Regions from separate parts of the Homo sapiens genome. Here region 2 is linked to region 1. Evidence: promoter capture Hi-C in 16 types of primary human blood cells and fetal thymus (Javierre and others, 2016). All regions are on one chromosome and are shown on one strand. The core of a region is centred on a gene start or on the middle of the fragment in contact, and the rest is flanking DNA. Distances in the headings are between cores, read along the strand shown. Region 1 holds the start of SPART (spartin). Region 2 holds the start of PDS5B (PDS5 cohesin associated factor B).

Evidence for each region. The method cuts DNA at HindIII sites, captures the fragments that hold promoters and counts their contacts. A CHiCAGO score of 5 or more calls a contact.
Region 2: the fragment with the promoter of PDS5B here is called in contact with the fragment with the promoter of SPART in region 1 in 6 of 17 cell types (monocytes, total B cells, total CD4 T cells and 3 more); the score reaches 8.4 in monocytes.

The regions. Positions count from the first base shown.
Region 1 is chr13:36,344,289-36,347,846 of GRCh38, reverse strand. It overlaps SPART (spartin), which reads left to right and starts at 1,453. Exons shown (of 9, transcript NM_015087.5): 1 at 1,453-1,622. SPART-AS1 (SPART antisense RNA 1) reads right to left here and starts at 1,416. Exons shown (of 5, transcript NR_045181.1): 1 at 1,340-1,416. RefSeq lists a silencer at 1,555-1,604. The HindIII fragment of the contact is 1,461 bases long and covers 406-1,866 here.
Region 2 is chr13:32,584,993-32,588,328 of GRCh38, reverse strand. It overlaps PDS5B (PDS5 cohesin associated factor B), which reads right to left and starts at 1,877. Exons shown (of 35, transcript NM_015032.4): 1 at 1,736-1,877. It overlaps PDS5B-DT (PDS5B divergent transcript), which reads left to right and starts at 1,884. Exons shown (of 3, transcript XR_001749808.1): 1 at 1,884-1,952; 2 at 2,407-2,525; 3 at 2,760-3,311. RefSeq lists an enhancer at 773-832 and silencers at 1,063-1,312, 1,733-1,812, 1,823-2,192. The HindIII fragment of the contact is 4,434 bases long and covers 1-3,336 here.

The DNA.
Region 1 (3,558 bases), core at 204-2,703:
TAGATTCCACTGGCTACATTTAAAAGTTATATAACTTTTATTTTAAAATGTTAATTTATAATAAAACAGAAGTTGCTTCTTTTGTAACTATTTAAGTCAGATGAGAAATTGTGATGGTCAATCCAAAAACGTGGAAGTGAGAATACAGTCATAGTCTTTGGGGACTCCTTTGGGGGTATAAGAGCAAAATCATTTTGAAACCACTGTATTAATATATTCCTAATAGGTTTTGCTTTTTGGGATGACTGACTGCTACCTTTCTGAGATTTGAGGGAGTCACTTAACTGGTCCTAAGGCCAGGCGCGGTGACTCACGCCTGTAATCCCAGCACTTTGGGAAACTGAGGCAGGTGGATCGCTTGAGGTCAGGAATTCGAGACCAGCCTGGCTAACTTGAGGTCAAGCTTTCAAGACCAGCTTGGCCAATATGGTGAAACCCCGTCTCTACTAAAAATACAAAAATTAGACGGGAGTGGTGGTGCACAGCTGTAATTCCAGCTTCTCTGGAGGCTGAGGCATGAGAGTCGCTTGAACCTGGGAAGCAGAGGTTGCAGTGAGCCGAGATCATGCCACTGCACTCCAGCCTGGGCAACATAGTAAGACTCTGTCTCAAAACAAAACAAAAACACAACAACAACAAAACTGGTTCTAAATGCTCCGGGCAAGTACATACTGCTTTTTCTTTTTTCTGTTTTTTTTTCCCTAAGGCAGCCCTATTGAAGAGTCTGTCATCTACAATATTTTACTAATTTAAAAACACTTGTCAAGAAGGGTAAAGTATGTTCATCTTGATTTTACTCTTTGTATCCCGGAATCAGGAACTAACAGTTTTATGATAGTGATATAGACTTTACACACACACCAAGACTTAAAACACGTGGTGCAGGCGGGCTTTTGGAAATTAACTGTGCTCTGGATACAGAAGTCACAAAGCTCAGGCTGCAGAGACATTGAGGGGATAATCAGCCTTTATTGTCTCTCGTGCACTGTGCCCAGCGCTCCCTCTAGCGGCTACAAGCGCTCACTGCCCACACTCTCTACTAGGCTCTCCGGAGGCCTCGGTTTCGCTGGAGAGAAAGAGATTGCGCAGGCGCCGAGCAGCCGACGTGGCCGCAGGGGACCGTGCCTGGGGGGGTCTGCGCGGGGCCGCTGACTCGCGAGGTTCTCTGTCGCCTGCCGCCCTCGCTCCTTTTCTCCCCTTCTAGAGTGTTACGGTGACTCTTGGGTCCGAAGGGGACGGACGTCCTCCCACGTACCATTTAGAAGGTCAGAGTGGGCAGAACCTAGTCTGAGCAGGCCGGTGATGAATCCGCTGGCAAGACGCGCGCGTGGGTACTCACGTGACCTAGGCTGCGGCGGCGGCGTGCTGCGGGCTCTGTGGCGGGAGCGAGGCCGACGGGCGGGGCCGCGCGGCCGCGTGACGCGAAGCGTTCGAGAGCGCGCGTCGTGGAACGTCTTGGTTGCCACGGCAAGCGCGCGCGCGAGGCCTTGGGAACCTCGGGACCGGCCCCCGGCGAGCGCAGCGGCGCCCAGTGTAAGGGAGTGGGAGCTGGTCCGTGCCGCGGCGGCCGCGCAGGGAGCTCTCGAGGCAACGCCGGGGCGCCCGAGGTCTGGAAGGCGCAGGTGGGGCGCGGGGGAGTTCACCCCTGCGCGGTCCCTTGGGTGGGCGGGGTGGGCGCCCCAGGCCCCGCGGACTCGGCTGGGAGGCTGAGCGGGCGACGGTCACGGGACAAGGGTGGAGGGGGTGGGGACCTCATCCGAGTCTCAGAGATGGAATTTTCGAGGAAGGGAGCGATTTCGAGAGAGAATAGTTTGAGAAGTTGTTCTCAGTCCCTTCTCTCGCGGGAGTGTGGTATTTAGGGAAGCTTCGGCCTCTTAACCCATGGACTGTTAGGATGGAGGGAATCCTTCCCGCTCGATTCCTATCGCGGAGTCCTTTCGGAGCATCGCTATTGATCATTCTCGCCGCCCCAACCCCGTTGTTTACTTTGGCTTCGCAGATCTCTGTGGTCTTTTGCCCTCCCGCAGCGCCCATGGCCCCGTCAAGGTTGGGCAGCCTTTCTCTGCAAGAAGGCCCACGAACAACTGCGGTTATATTGGGATGGATTGCGCGTGATTTTACTCTTTACAATACATTCTTTCATGCTTCCTAGGGATTGAGCTGCGCGGCGGATCCCTCCGACTTAATTCTGGGCCTGAGAAAAGTTTCTCTTGGAATGCGCAGTTTCGTGACGCAGCATTATTGCGTGACTCTAGGGCTGACCCAGTTTTTCACTTTCTAATTGTAAGGAAGTGCGCTAGTAGTCCACCGAGGATCCTCGAGGTTGGCCTTATTGTATCATAATTTAACGAATTTGCGTTCCAGGTTGTTACAGCCTTTGAAATAATGGCCTCATATTTAAGAATGTAGCAATTTTTCTTTGAAATTTCCGAAAGTGGGGAAAAAAGTAATAGAAGACTGCACCTATATGGAATTATTTTCTGATTCGCAGTTCTTTATAATCGTAGACTTAATTTGGTGGCTTTATTGGACCTGTTTGAAACAGGAAGCCTTTCTGTAATGTGGTTTCGGGTCGGCTTCACCTCTGGCACTCTCTGAAACGTCGTTGTCTATGGTTTCCCTAAGAAGCTAGAATGAGCGGGATGCTACGGAGGGAGGTGTATACAGGTGTTAGACAAAGCCCCCTCCGCTTTTTTGGTAAAGGGCCAAATAGGCATTAGATCAACTTGTGCTAGCTCTAAGGAGTTAAATGCGGTATTATTAAAGACTGCTTGTAATGTTGACTGTTAAGTGAGAGTGTTACTTCTTTCAGTGTTTATGGAATCGAACTAAATTGCTAGGTATTTTAATGCAGAATTTTACCTTTTCTCGGGTATTTTTTAAGACATACACAGACATACATGTAGTTATGTTGAAATAAATGTGTTTTATTAGAACGTTAAAAAATTAGAATTTAGGTGAACTACTGGTATCGGAACAGATTTTGGTTTGTTGTTGAAGACTGTACACTGGTGTAGGTACTGTTTAATACATCAGATTGTCATTTCAAAGACTTTGTCTTCTTAACTTTGAAAATTAAATAATGTGAAATAATGTGATAATGGTTTTTATCTTTTCAGGACACTTGATTGACACTTAATTGTGCTTAGGAATAGAATAGGCTTTTTTTTAAGTCACCATCCTCCAATCCTTATTTCTGTAAAATGTATTTTCTGAGACCGCTGAGGATATAGCAAATCCCAGTCACAAAATAAAAATGTGATATTTTAATATAAACCTTTTTCTTTCTGTGTTGAGATTCCCCAGAGATTAGACTGAAATTGACCATTAGACTTATATATAACCTCTAGATACCCAGGCTCTTCTCTCGTGTATCCTTTTTTTCTCTTTAAGATGGAGATGTAGCAAGGAAGGTTATTAAGCAATCCTGTGGAATTAGCCCTCCCACTCCACCCCTACACACAGGCACACTCTTCTTTCTCAGTAGCCATCTTGTTCCCTCCATTGACACATTATTAGGAAATCTTTCATCACACCGTATGTAAAATAAGCTTAGAA
Region 2 (3,336 bases), core at 628-3,127, 3.8 Mb after region 1:
GTTAAGTTTCTGAGACTAAATCTATCTTCACATAAAAGTTCCCATGTAATTTTCACCTACATATTCAGCACTACAAATTTTAATTAGGTTTTCTGCTATCACCATGAGATACAAGATTAATTGTTGCACGAACTGACCTGCATACACCATTGAATACTCATTTTATTGTCCCTAAAGATGCGAACATCTCAGACATGTGTACTGCATGAAGAGCTGTCTTTCAAGTCCATATTTGTGGCTTTTAATTACTTTACCTGACCACTACATGAGTTAATATAAAAAACGTTCTGTCTGGGAACTCGGGATGTGTTAACTGAGAACAATGACTATACTGCCGTTCAAGCATTGGGTAATTACGATTTATTTACAGCTCGCCTCCTGTATGTAAACACAACTTGAGTTTTTGAAGTTCATTAGGAAGATAGTATAGGATTACCCAACTCTCTCCACACCGCAGACCAACCCTCTAAATTAAGGCTATACCCAAAGTTTTCGAAACTATTTCATCAACAGGGTAGGATCAGTCTGGGCACCACTGCCCATCCATCACCTCTTATTAAAAGTACGAGAAGCACTTTCTTCGACATAAAAAAGGGTTAACCCTCGCTGGGGGAGAGAGGCTGTTGAAGACGCGCGTGGAGTGGGTGGGTAGCTGCTCTACCAACCCTTCCCGGAGCTCGCCCCGTCCGCGGCAAGGAACGCAGCAGCCTGCAGCTCCGAAGGCGAGGGGCGGCGTTTCTGGTTTCAGTCATTCGTCCAAAATAACTGTCGAGCTACTTAAGAGTTAGCTTTCACGTCTCTACCAAAAACCAACAGCAGTAGCAGCAACAACAACAAACAAGGTTTTTCTCCGGACCGAAAACTTTTAAAGTAACATTAAAATAACAGTGTAAAAACAATAACGAGTCACAATTGCACACCATTTTCCCCGCCGTTCCTTCTGAAAGGAAAGCTAGAACCCAGTTGTGGCCTGGGAGGAGTCCCTCCACGCCAGTGCTGGGCTCTTCCTCAACTGGCTGCTCGGGGACCACTCGGGGTGGCGCGGTGAGCGCGATTTCCCTCCGGCGAGCGGCGAGGGACAGTGCAAAAATGTCACGCTCAGCCCGTCCCCTGGCCCGAAGCGGAGGCCAGGCGGCGCGCGGGGACCCGGCGGCGGGGGCGAGAGCGCCCGCGGCCCCGACCCGCGGTCCCCGCCCGCCCCTCGCCCGGAAGGGGGAGAAGCCCGCCCGCGGGAGGATTCAACAGGAGCACCGCGCCGCCCGCCTGCCGCCCGGGAAACAGCCGCCGGCCGGCCGGGGCGCGGGGGGAGGGGCGCGGCGGCGGCGACGGCGGCGGCGGGAGGGCGCGGGCGGCCGGGCGGCCCCGAGACCCCCGCCCGCGCGCAAGGTCACCGCCCGCCGCCGCCGCCGCCCCGGCCGGGATCAGAGCGGCAAGTTTAATTTTCCAGAGGCTGCGGCAGAACCCGCGGCGTGGAGGCGCGCGCCGGCCGCGGGGCCCTCCCCACCCCCACCGCGCAGCCGGCCCGCGCCCCGCGACCCCCGCCCCGGGCCACCGCCAGGCAGCCACCCGCTGCAGCCCCCGATGCCGGGAGGCGAGTCGCGCCTGGCACCCAGGCGGGCGGCGCTTCAGCCCTGCCACACACACGCACACAGCGGCAGTGGCGGCCGCTGAAAAATGGAGCGCCGCAGCCAGAGAAGAGAGACATTTTCTTTCCGTTAACTGAATTGTTTCCTACCTCCGGGTTGCCGACTCGCTACTCCGCTCACTCCGGGGCTCTCCGGGATCCGCCGCCGCCGCCGCATCCAATCGCCTTCTCCCCCCCCCTCCCCTTCCGCAGCCAGCCCTGCCGTTCCTCCTCCTCTCCGCTTCAAAATGGCGCCAAGCGCTCTTCGGCGGCTGCTCCAATCGAACCGCCGCGGACAGCACCCGGGGGCAGGCAGAGCGCGGCATGGGTGCGCAGCGCCCCCTGCCGACCAGACGGCCCCGAGCGCGTCCGCCCTCCGAGCTCCACCCCGCCCCGTCCGCGCGCGCGCACGTCCCTCCTCAGCCCCGCCCCGTCCGCGCGCACGCAACCACACGGGCACGCCGCCGCGGGGCCCGCGAGAAGGGCAGCTGTCAAGGCGTCCACTACTCTTGCGGCTTCCTAGACCTCTACCGACAAAAACCACACCGATTGTTACGTAGCCCTATCTTTTTAGATAAAGGTTGGGAGATTTTTTTAAACCCTGACATTCAGCACAGGTGTTGTGATGGGTAAACAGAATTGGTATTATTAACTACTTTGCTCCTTACTTGTTAACTCTGACCTAGTCGTCTCGGAATGCCATACAAATAGTTTTCCTACACTTTACGTGTTATGTCTTTATTAAATCTCCCCGCTTTCCTAATTTGAGGAATTGTTTATAGGTGGTAGGCTGGCGGAGACAGAGTAATTGAGCCTGTGACGAAGCATTCCATTCCTTTGGCAGAATTGTCCTTATTAGAGGAAGAAATCATCTGGAGACCACAGGGACACATTCCAGGAGGTGGGTCTCCTCCCCTCTTCACCTCTAAGGGATGCCAGTCCCTCCTGCAGCTGTAGAGTGGGTTTAGCCTGGTCACCACAGCAGATCACCTACCTTGCGGGAAGGTTTCCTCCCCAGCCGGGTCCCTGCCAGAGCTGAAGAAGGGACTTCCTCCTCTTTTTACTTTAATACCATCCCTGCTGTAAGGAAGTTTCCCCTGATATGATGTATTTGGTTACTAGAATTTTGTTCCAGGGAGAATTTGTTTCAACAATGAACAAGCAAAGTGTGAATGAATGGATTACAGTAGGATACTTATCAACTGAAACAAAAGAGAGGTAATGCTGATATATAAACTAATGCTACTGTGTTAGAAAAGGTATGTACATCGGTATTCCATCGGACCCGGGCACCTAGAGATACTGAGACCTCTTCATTTCCATTTTTGTGGGATTCGCTGGACAATTCCGCCTCAGTCTCCTCCAGTGCTTGCTAGACCAATATGTTGTGTTACTGTATTCCTGTGTCCAAGATTTTGCCACTGAATACTCCAGGTTCTACCCATTTTATACATTCCTCGATGAAGTCTACTATGAGTTTTTTCTGCCCTCTTTTTAAAATTATCTCAGGAATTTTCTTATTTTACATCGTTGTTCCATCAACATAAATCTTGTATGGGAGAGTAGGATGTCTAGATCTAGAAAAACCTTTCCTCTTTGGTTGTTTTTATTATGTTTTTTACTTTATTTTCTTCAATTCCCAAACCTCCAAAGCCAGGAAGCCAGAAAGTTTCAGAAGAAAGCCAGGATGAAAGCAAGAATTTTTTTTTCTT